3 separate regions of the Homo sapiens genome follow, and regions 1 and 2 are each linked to region 3. Evidence: promoter capture Hi-C in human tissues and cell types (Jung and others, 2019). All regions are on one chromosome and are shown on one strand. The core of a region is centred on a gene start or on the middle of the fragment in contact, and the rest is flanking DNA. Distances in the headings are between cores, read along the strand shown. Region 1 overlaps LOC105372225 (a long non-coding RNA gene). Region 2 has its middle 42 kb from the start of LINC01896. Region 3 holds the start of SALL3 (spalt like transcription factor 3).

Region 1 (3,644 bases), core at 935-3,434, 35 kb after region 3:
GTTTTGAATACAGTGGTGAAAGGTTTTAATCCCACTGGTTTTGAATCATGAATGTACTTGGGGAAGGGTCATAAATGACTTGGTAAGAAAATGATGAAATGCAACAATTTTTAAGGTGAGACACATGTAAGAATGAACATTGGGATCTTTTCTTGAGGTTTCTGGAGGGTTATTTATAATTCATACAGGAAAGGGCAGGTATAGCTATTCCAAAGAAATAGAAAAACAAGGTGTAACCATCCAACCAGAGATGGTACAAAATTCCAAAAATAAATCACTGATTTTAAGAAAAGCGAAAATAAAGGGGAGGATTGTTACTCTCGGTAGTTCTGTCCTGCAAAAATGTTTAAGCTTTAAGAAGACAAACACAATCAAAACCATAATTTTGCACCCTTAACCAAGCAGAAAGCTGGAGGATTGCATTGAACACTCACAGGTGAGTGTCCTATCCCCATAAATGACTCTGGCTTCTGATACGGGGTCTTTTTAGCCATGGAGAAGGGAAGGTATCACAATCTGGACGCCAAAGAATTAAAAACAGAATAATGTTGGAGGAGATATAAAATTGAGGAATCACCATCACTATACACAGCACAGCTCCCAAGTAAACAATTGTCTGGGCAAATATGTACTTTTGATACTTCTGAAAACCCAGGAGAAGCACTTTCTGTAAATTGTGAAAGAATGTGTGTGCTGTTTGCCTATACACACAGCATTTCCCACCCAAAGCTTTCTTTCCCTTTGTGCTGTAAATCCAGCTCAGTGCTGAAGAAGTCACTTCCACAGCCGAGATAAAATATTTATCTTCAGCAAAAAGGGCATAAACAATTGTTGAGGAAAATATACAATAAGTTCTTAAATGTCTGCATAATTGAAGCACTTAGGTGTGTTTTGGGTAATAGAAATAATAGCAGAACCAAAACTCTTTTTATAAAGGTAACATTTTTCTTAAATGCCGAAAGCAAACTCTTGAAGTCCCATCAGCCTAGCGACAGTGAGAACCTTCCCGGGCTCCGGGACCCATGGCAGGAATGTGAAACTGTGCCAGGGCGAAGGACTTTCAACAGAAAGAAACACGCTGCTGAGGCAGCTGAACAGAGACTTTTAACACAGGAAATGGTAACTCCATTTGCTCCAGATGCAGCGGGACAGACATCTGCCAGGCCCTGAGTTATGCCAGAGCATCTCCCGTGGAATGGACCAGGGTATGCCTGCCACCTGCCCGACGGGTATTTGGTTCAAAGGCCACATTAGAAATGAACACCTAATTAATTGGATTTGGAAAAACCTGAGAAATCAAACACACTGCATGACCGGGTGTGTGATCAGCCCCCTCCTTACTACTTAAATCAAACACACTGCATGACCGGGTGTGTGATCAGCCCCCTCCTTACTACTTAAATCAAACACACTGCATGACCGGGTGTGGGATCAGCCCCCTCCTTACTACTTAAATCAAACACACTCCATGACCGGGTGTGGGATCAGCCCCCTCCTTACTACTTAAATCAAACACACTGCATGACCGGGTGTGTGATCAGCCCCCTCCTTACTACTTAAATCAAACACACTGCATGACCGGGTGTGTGATCAGCCCCCTCCTTACTACTTAAATCAAAGACACCTCATGACCGGGTGTGTGATCAGCCCCCTCCTTACTACTTAAATCAAACACACTGCATGACCGGGTGTGGGATCAGTTCCCCCCTTACTACTTAAATCAAACACACTGCATGACCGGGTGTGGGATCAGTTCCCCCCTTACTACTTAAATCAAACACACTGCATGACCGGGTGTGGGATCAGCCCCCTCCTTACTACTTAAATCAAACACACTGCATGACCAGGTGTGTGATCAGTCCCCTCCTTACTACTTAAATCAAACACACTCCATGACCGGGTGTGGGATCAGCCCCCTCCTTACTACTTAAATCAAACACACTGCATGACCGGGTGTGGGATCAGCCCCCTCCTTACTACTTAAATCAAACACACTGCATGACCGGGAGTGTGATCAGCCCCCTCCTTACTACTTAAATCAAACACACTGCATGACCGGGTGTGGGATCAGTCCCCTCCTTACTACTTAAATCAAACACACTGCATGACCGGGTGTGGGATCAGTCCCCTCCTTACTACTTAAATCAAACACACTGCATGACCGGGTGTGTGATCAGTCCCCTCCTTACTACTTAAATCAAACACACTCCATGACCGGGTGTGTGATCAGCCCCCTCCTTACTACTTAAATCAAACACACCTCATGACCGGGTGTGTGATCAGCCCCCTCCTTACTACTTAAATCAAACACACTCCATGACCGGGTGTGTGATCAGCCCCCTCCTTACTACTTAAATCAAACACACTCCATGACCGGGTGTGTGATCAGTCCCCCCCTCCTTACTACTTAAATCAAACACACTGCATGACCGGGTGTGGGATCAGTCCCCTCCTTACTACTTAAATCAAACACACTGCATGACCGGGTGTGGGATCAGTCCCCTCCTTACTACTTAAATCAAACACACTGCATGACCGGGTGTGGGATCAGTCCCCTCCTTACTACTTAAATCAAACACACTGCATGACCGGGTGTGTGATCAGTCCCCCCCTCCTTACTACTTAAATCAAACACACTGCATGACCGGGTGTGGGATCACCCCCCTCCTTACTACTTAAATCAAACACACTGCATGACCGGGTGTGGGATCAGCCCCCTCCTTACTACTTAAATCAAACACACTCCATGACCGGGTGTGTGATCAGCCCCCTCCTTACTACTTAAATCAAACACACCTCATGACCGGGTGTGTGATCAGCCCCCTCCTTACTACTTAAATCAAACACACTGCATGACCGGGTGTGGGATCAGTCCCCTCCTTACTACTTAAATCAAACACACTCCATGACCGGGTGTGGGATCAGCCCCCTCCTTACTACTTAAATCAAACACACTCCATGACCGGGTGTGTGATCAGCCCCCTCCTTACTACTTAAATCAAACACACTGCATGACCGGGTGTGGGATCAGCCCCCTCCTTACTACTTAAATCAAACACACTCCATGACCGGGTGTGTGATCAGCCCCCTCCTTACTACTTAAATCAAACACACTCCATGACCGGGTGTGTGATCAGTCCCCCCCTCCTTACTACTTAAATCAAACACACTGCATGACCGGGTGTGGGATCAGTCCCCTCCTTACTACTTAAATCAAACACACTCCATGACCGGGTGTGTGATCAGCCCCCTCCTTACTACTTAAATCAAACACACCTCATGACCGGGTGTGTGATCAGCCCCCTCCTTACTACTTAAATCAAACACACTGCATGACCGGGTGTGGGATCAGTCCCCTCCTTACTACTTAAATCAAACACACTCCATGACCGGGTGTGGGATCAGTCCCCCTCCTTACTACTTAAATCAAACACACTCCATGACCGGGTGTGTGATCAGCCCCCTCCTTACTACTTAAATCAAACACACTGCATGACCGGGTGTGGGATCAGCCCCCTCCTTACTACTTAAATCAAACACACTCCATGACCGGGTGTGTGATCAGCCCCCTCCTTACTACTTAAATCAAACACACTCCATGACCGGGTGTGTGATCAGTCCCCCCCTCCTTACTACTTAAATCA
Region 2 (3,597 bases), core at 47-2,546, 43 kb before region 3:
GAGAATCGTGAAGCAATGTCTACAAAACCCCTTCAGTGTGGTGAGTGCTCGCACAATGTGTGAGCAGGTGCGCACACACATACACACACACACACGCACCATAAGAAACTGAAATCTGGTATGCTTTTCATCTCCGTAAGAGACAATTTTCCATCTAGGTAAACAAATCAGCATTCAGCGTGCATATTCCTAACAGACCAAATTATGAATAAATGTCATTTCAATAGCAGCTTTTTCTATACCATTTACCAACATAGAAATAAACATTTCATTTAGCTTTAGAGTGCAATTCGAATTAACTTGACTAAAATCCACTGGGCTGCCTTCAGTGAGAGATGGAATATCTCTGCCATCTACAATGACAGCCGAGAAATCACTGGCATCACTACCATTAGCCCAATTCTCCCATCAAAACCCGTGACCCTAGCTAAGTAACTGACATTTGTCCAATGCTGGAAATGAACTAATAGTTTCCATCGACCATCAGAGAAATGAAAAAGGAACCAGAGCAAATCAGCACGCCCTGGCCAGGGCAGAGAAATCAGGGATGGCCGCCAGGCAGCGCGGGAGCACAGGTGCAGCTAACGGCCAAATTCCACCCGTGAGCACACACGCACGCTTCCAGGTCCACACCATGGGCCCAGACTGCCTCGGAGATCAAAGAATAAACTCAGGTATCTACGTTAGCTGCCTGGCCTTAGTGGGGCTCACACTCCGCCAAGAGTTTCCAGCTGCAAGGATGACCAGGCCCAGCCTGGGACCTGAGTGTCTGTGGAGGCAGAAGCAGGGCTGCTTTGCTGGCACAGGCCGAGAGCCGGGGAGGTGGGCAGGGAGGGGGCACAGCCCAGGAAGGCTGAGGGCCAGGGAGGTGGGCGGGGCGGGGGCACAGCCCAGGAAGGCTGAGGGCCAGGGAGGTGGGCAGGGCAGGGGCACAGCCCAGGAAGGCTGAGGGCCAGGGATGTGGGTAGGGCAGGAGCACCGACCAGGAAGACGTCGGGCCAGGGATGTGGGCAGGGCGGTAGCACAGTCCAGGAAGGCCGCACGGAAGAGGAGACAGGTAGGGCGGGGCCAGAGCTCAGGAAGGCCACGAACCGGGAGACGGGCAGGGCAGGGCTGGAGCCCAGGCTCATACCTGGCTCGGCCTCTCTCAGTGCAGACCATCTCCAAACCTCGGTTTTCTCATGCATAAAATTGGGTTATGAAAGCTACATTTCAGTATGATTGAGAAGATTAAAGGGAATATATGCAGAACATATAATGTGATACCTGGGTTCAATAAATGGTAGCAAGTCTTACTGCAAAATCTGAAATGACCCACTAAAACCTGACCTAACCTTTTCCCCCACAGACAGGTGCTGACGAAAGACAGGAGATGAGCTGGGAAGGTGGACAGTCACATGCAAAAGAAAAGAGGCAGAGAGGATGAATATTCCAAACTCCCTTCTCTCAAGGGATGTGCATTTGCCCCAATTCAAACCAACCTGTGGAGAGATGGGGCTGGTGGTTGCCCAGGGACCAGACCACTCGGCTTGATCTCAGCTGTGAAGGGATGGGGCTGGTGGTTGCCCAGGGACCAGACCACTTGGCTTGATCTCAGCTGTGAAGAGATGGGGCTGGTGGTTGCCCAGGGGCCAGACCACTGAGCTTGATCTCAGGTCTGTCACCATGGGTAATAGCTGACCTTTAACAAACAAACATCTTACAAAAATTTCCAAACATGCATAAAGATGGATGGATCAATACAGCGAAGCCGGAGCGCCCGTCACCACCCGGCTTCTGCTGCTGTCGACACACGGGCGATTCAGCTCATGCTCCCCAATTCTCCACCCGCTCTGTGTTTTTTGCTTGTTCGGTTGGTTGATTGGTTGGTTGGGGTTTTTTGGGTTTTTTTTTTTTTTTGAGATGGAGTCTTGCTCTGTTGCCAGGCTGGAGTGTAATGGCGCAATCTCGGCTCACTGCAACCTCCACCTCCCGGGTTCAAGCGATTCTCCTTCCTCAGCCTCCCAAGTAGCTGGGAATACAGGCATGCACCACCATGCCCAGCTAATTTTTGTATTTTTAGTAGAGATGGGGTTTCACCACATTGGCCAGGATGGTCTGGATCTCTTGACCTTGTGATCCGCCCACCTCGGCCTCCCAAAGTGCTGGGGTTACAGGCATGAGCCACTGTGCCTGGCCCGCTTTGTGTTGTTTTAAAGCAAATCCCGGGCATATTATCTCATTGGCAAACACCTCTGCTTGTTTAACCTAATCCTATCATCATCACTTTTTTTTTCTTTTTTTTGAGACAAAGTCTCGCTCTTGTCCCCCAGTCTGGAGTACAGTGGCACGATCTTGGCTCACTGCATCCTCCGCCTCCCGGGTTCAAGCGATTCTCCTGCCTCAGCCTCCCAAGTATCTGGGATTACAGGTGCGTAGCAACACACCCAGATAATTTTTTGTATTTTAAGTAGAGACGGGGTTTCACCATGCTGGCCAGGCTGGTCTCGAACTCCTGACCTCAGGTAATTTGCCCATCTCGGCCTCCCAAAGTGCTGGGATTACAGGTGTGAGCCACCGCGCCTGGCCTATCACATCTTAAATACCTAACAAGTGTCTTCATATTATCAAATGCCCCAATTATCTCATAAATATCTATGATTGTTGGCTTCTCTGAATCATAGCTGCCTTTTTCAAAGGGCAAAATCTGGGATACAAGAAGGTGTTCAGTCCAATTTTCAGGCAAAAGAGGCAGTGGCTTTGCATTGTCATCTGAGTTTTGCTACAAGCTCTAATCTGTCACCAAAATATCTGTCCCTCCAGTACTCAATAATGATGACATTTCTCTCCATTGGAGTCTCATCGGAGTTGGACAGTAATTGTCAGGAGGCCCCTGTTCCTTTGTCGTGGTTTTCCTTAAGGCTGACTCGTGTGGGTATCAATACTATTAATAGAATTCTCCATCCACAATATGAGGAGTTTCCAGTCCTAGAAAGGTTTCCTTTAGGTTCAAATCTTTTATCTCAAAATCTTAGGCTACAGTAGAAAAATTAACATCCAGAGATACCCTCCTGGCAACATGCAACCCTCAAACCAGCCCATCCTCTGTTGTCTGGGCGAAGACAAACCAAATGAGAAACACATTCTGCCCTCAGCCCCTGTCTGAAAAGCTTGGCTGGTGCAGCTCTGTCTTATTAAACGTCTTTCCCAGCTGTGATCTCCTTTCTTGACTCTTTTTAGAAAGGAAAAACAAATTCTCCCTAGACACACTGAAGGCTTAAGTCAAACTTCCCTCATTTCTTCTTGACCACTTTTTTATTCCCACCACATTTTATCTTCTCCCAGTCTGGCCGTTTGATATATGTGCATATCACAAGCTTGTCTATATCAATGTACGTTATGTCTGTATGAGTCATGGCCCATTGGAGGCAAATGCTAGGTCTGGAAACCAAAGTGTCTGCTGGAGTTTCATTTTCATGGCCATACAAACCCCAAGGCGTGGCCAAGGCTGAATCACATAGAACTGACAAAAAGCATCAATACACAGAGATTCTCAGCCTCCCACACTGGCCCCACCGCAGACGGCCTGGGCCCCACCTGCCCAGGGCCTCTCCAGCT
Region 3 (3,629 bases), core at 159-2,658:
TGACCCTCCTGCGCTTTTCCTGGAACCCAAAGCTCTGACTTCGTCAAACTTACACAATTAAAGGCAGGCGGAAGAACGCGGGCTGGGAAGCAAGCGGGAAGATTCTAGAATGGAAGGGAGCCCGCCGAGCGCCGCGAGCCGCGCCAGGCCGGGTCCGATGGAGCAGGCGGGGATTCCTCCCCCAGGCGGACCCCCGCCACCAGCCCTGCCGGGAGCTCGCGGCCTGCGGAGCGCCCGGGCTGGCCGCTCACCGCCCGCTTCCCCCAGCGAACGACTCGGGGAAGCTCCAGGAGGCCATCTGTGCTGACGGTTCACACCAGACAGGACCACTTGCAAGGACAAAAATAAGAAATTTAGGAAACGAAAAAAGACGTACTGGGGCGAGGGGCGCGGGCGCGGCGACGACGGGGCCGGGGGCACATCCTGGCGGCCGCTCGGGGAGAGAGGACACGCGCGGGAAGGAGCGCGGCGGGTGCACGGCCGCGGGTGGGAGTACGCGCCTGTGCGCGCGGGGCGAGGGCGAGGGCGCGTGCGTGTGACCGCGGGGAGGGGGCGGGCGCGTGTGCGGGGAGCGCGCCGCGCCAGGGGCCGAGTGTGTGGGGCCGATCCAGAAGTGCGCAGCCCCCTCACCTGGCCCCCGTGTCATCCCCGAAATCCCGGGAAAGGGTGGGCCGCGCGCGGGAGTTTGGTGGAGTTGGAACTTTCGGTCGCGCTCGCTGCCCACTCCGCTGGCGCCCGGTGGCCCGTGGTGAAGGGGGACTAGGGTGGGGAACACCGGGGCCCTGCGGTCCCCTCCCTTTCCTGTATTTAAGAAGCCGCCGGCGGCGCAGAGGCCCAGGCGGGCTGGCGCGGGGGCGAGGCGGCCCGGTGGCAGCAGCGGGCGGGGCGGGCGCTCCGGAGTCGGTGGGGCCCGCGGGTTGGGGGGCGGGGAGAGGGGGGAGTGGAAGGGAGGGGGAACGCAGGGGAGGGAGAGGAGGGGAGGAGCCGCGCGGCCCGCGCCGCTTCCGAACCGGAAAGTTGGTCTTGCCGAAGTCCTGCCACCCCGGCGTGCGCACTCCGCTCCGCTCCGGCCGCGAGCCTCCGAGCCCGGCCGGCCGCCGGGGGAAGCCCGCGGAGGGGACGCGGGGCCGGGCGAGAAGGTCCGGAGAGCGGGGGGCACCTGAGCCCGGGCGGGCCCGCCGCGCTGAGCGGCGCTGAGAGCCGCGGCGGAGCAGCGAAGGCGGCCGGCCGACCCCGCGCGCCCGGAACAGGAGGCGCGGCGCCCGAGCGGCCCGGGCGAGACAAAGGCGCCGGGTCGGAGCCCTGCCCGCGGCCGCTCGCTCCGGGAGGGGCCGCCCGGCGGCGGCGGCGGGGGGGGCGCGGGCGGCGGCGCAGACACTCTATAAAGGGGCGAGCCCGGCGCGCCGGCGGAGACGGCGCCGCGCGGACGCCGCCAAAGTTTGCTGCCTGCGCCCTGCGGAGGGACGGCCACCGCGGCCCGCGCCGCACCCGGGCCCCGCCACAGCCGCACCCGGGGCGGCCGAGGAGCGCGGCGCCGGAGCCCGCGATGTGAGGCGGCGCCGGGCAGCGCGCGCCCCGGTCCCGAGGCGCCGCGGCCCCCTCCTCGTCGGCGCGGCCGCTAATTGCGAGCGCGGCCTCATTTGCATAGGCCGCCGGAGTCCGCTGGAGCCCGGCCAATCGGCGCGGCCCTCCGCTAATGGCCATGCATTATTCACCAGCCTAATTGCTCAGCCCCATGCGCGGCCCGCGCAGCCGCCGCCGCCCCGCGCCCCGCGCCGCGCGCCCGCCAGGCCGCCCCGCGCCGTCCCCGCCGGCCGCCCCGCTGATGCCGCTGCCCCGCGCGGGGCCCGAGCGCCGCTAGCAGCATGTCTCGGCGCAAGCAGGCCAAGCCCCAGCACCTCAAGTCGGACGAGGAGCTGCTGCCGCCTGACGGGGCTCCCGAGCACGGTGAGGGCCGGGGCTGCGGGGTGGCCGGGGGGTCTGGGGCTGCCCGTCCGGGCTGGGGAAGCGCGTGCGGCGGGAGCGGATGCGCGCGTCCGGGAGCGGGAGAAAGTTCCCTGCTTCCTGCGGGCAAGCGTCCGCCCCGCGCCAGGCCGGCCGCGGGGCCCCGGGTACTTCGCCGGAGCGCGCGCGGCCGCCGAGAGAGTTGTGGGCGAAGTAAACTTGGCTCCTCTCCTCGGAGTCGGGGAGCTGCCCGCGAAGGGCGCCGAGGCCGCGGCCGGCTCGAGGACGGCTCGGAGGCCGGGGCGGGAGGGAGTCCACGGTGCCTCCGCCGCCGCGCCGCCCCCCAGGGTCTCTGCGCCAGGACGCTGAGGCCGGCGGCGGCGGGGAAGGCGACCGCAGCCCACCTACCGCTGGACGCGGGTTGGGGACCCCGCCGCCCGGCCAGCTTTGTTCGGGGGCCCGCGGCCCCTCCCGGGCCCCCGCACCGCCTCGGGTGACCCGCGGTGTCCCAGCGCGTTGACGCAGCCTGTGATCCCTCGCGAGGCGAGGAGAAGGTCGGGGGCTTGGCTCTGCCTAATGGCCGCCCGGGGAATTAAGCTGGGGGTGAGCGCAGCGGCGGCGGCCTGGGCCTGGCCCCTGCTCGCGGCGTGTTTCCGGGGCGTTCGTTGCAGCGTCTGCGCGGGCCTTTTCTCTCCCGTCTTTTTGGATCCGCCGAGGCCGGGCGCTGGAGACCTCGGCTTTGCAGTCATTTCGCTGGTAGGAGCGTCCTCTTCGAAACATCCAAGAGCAAAGGGCAGGCGCCGCGAAAGTTAAGAGACTGGCAAAGGGCTGGACTTCCCAGAGTGGCGCCTTAGCCCCGCAAAGTTTGGGGCGCCCCCACCCCCTTCGTCGAGTCAAAACCTCGGCCGGCGGCGCCCGGGCTTCGGCGCGCCCCGCGGGGCCCCCAGGGCGCCAGGAAAGAGGGCCGAGGAGGGGCGACCCCACGACCCCGAGCCCGCAGCACAGCTCGCAGTAAAATAATTTGCTCCTTAAAAAAACAGGCAGGCCAACTTTTATGATTGACCTGTTATAAGTTGTTGGAGGCAGATGGTGATCTTTTTACTCTGAGAATGAGACTGTCTGCGAAAAGGAAACGGGGCGGAAGAGTTTCCCACACAGTGGAGTAAAGTTTGACAAAGCGGGTAGACACCCATGTCGGATGAGAACGAGAGAGCATGCTTATGACGCGGCTGGAGAATTAATGAATTAAATAAAATTAGTGAGCTCGCTGGGGTCTTTTTGTTGCGGTGGAGGTAAGGGAGTCTTATCTGTGTAGCCAAGTCAGCCAAGATGAGAACAGGCGATATGCTAAAAAGAAACGCTTGCATATGGTGGGTAGATTAAGGACAAAGAATCTTTTTGTCATGGAAATGGATTTTTTTTTGTTTTGTTTACTTCATCACATAGAATTTCTCACACTTGGTTTGTTTTGTATCGCCCTCAATGACTACATGATCAAATGAATGGATTTATTTCTGCCGAATGAGAAAGACAGTCTTTCCTTCAAAAGAACTACATTGCGTCCCAGTGAGGAATTTTAAAGCTTTATTATTGTGGCTCCTGAATGGCTTAAAATCGGCTTTCACAGCCGCCCCAAAATGCAACAATGTAAATACTTCTCAGCTTTGTAGGGTCGGTATCAAAAT

Evidence for each region. The method cuts DNA at HindIII sites, captures the fragments that hold promoters and counts their contacts. A contact is called where the count stands out against the background at its distance.
Region 1: a contact is called between a fragment that was not itself captured here and the fragment with the promoter of SALL3 in region 3, in 6 of the 25 tissues and cell types used here (IMR-90 fibroblasts, adrenal gland, bladder and 3 more).
Region 2: a fragment that was not itself captured here is called in contact with the fragment with the promoter of SALL3 in region 3 in 3 of the 25 tissues and cell types used here (adrenal gland, pancreas and spleen).

The regions. Positions count from the first base shown.
Region 1 is chr18:79,013,017-79,016,660 of GRCh38, forward strand. The region is part of intron 2 of LOC105372225 (a long non-coding RNA gene); the gene reads right to left. Among named protein-coding and RNA genes, the nearest start is that of SALL3, 35 kb to the left of the region's middle. The HindIII fragment of the contact is 9,218 bases long and covers 1-3,644 here.
Region 2 is chr18:78,935,812-78,939,408 of GRCh38, forward strand. No RefSeq gene overlaps it. Among named protein-coding and RNA genes, the nearest start is that of LINC01896, 42 kb to the right of the region's middle. RefSeq lists an enhancer at 1-330. The HindIII fragment of the contact is 3,911 bases long and covers 1-3,252 here.
Region 3 is chr18:78,978,410-78,982,038 of GRCh38, forward strand. It overlaps SALL3 (spalt like transcription factor 3), which reads left to right and starts at 1,409. Exons shown (of 3, transcript NM_171999.4): 1 at 1,409-1,947. The coding sequence starts at 1,866. It overlaps LINC01896 (long intergenic non-protein coding RNA 1896), which reads right to left and starts at 1,282. Exons shown (of 5, transcript NR_187297.1): 1 at 631-1,282; 2 at 54-329. RefSeq lists an enhancer at 2,826-3,629. The HindIII fragment of the contact is 21,440 bases long and covers 1-3,629 here.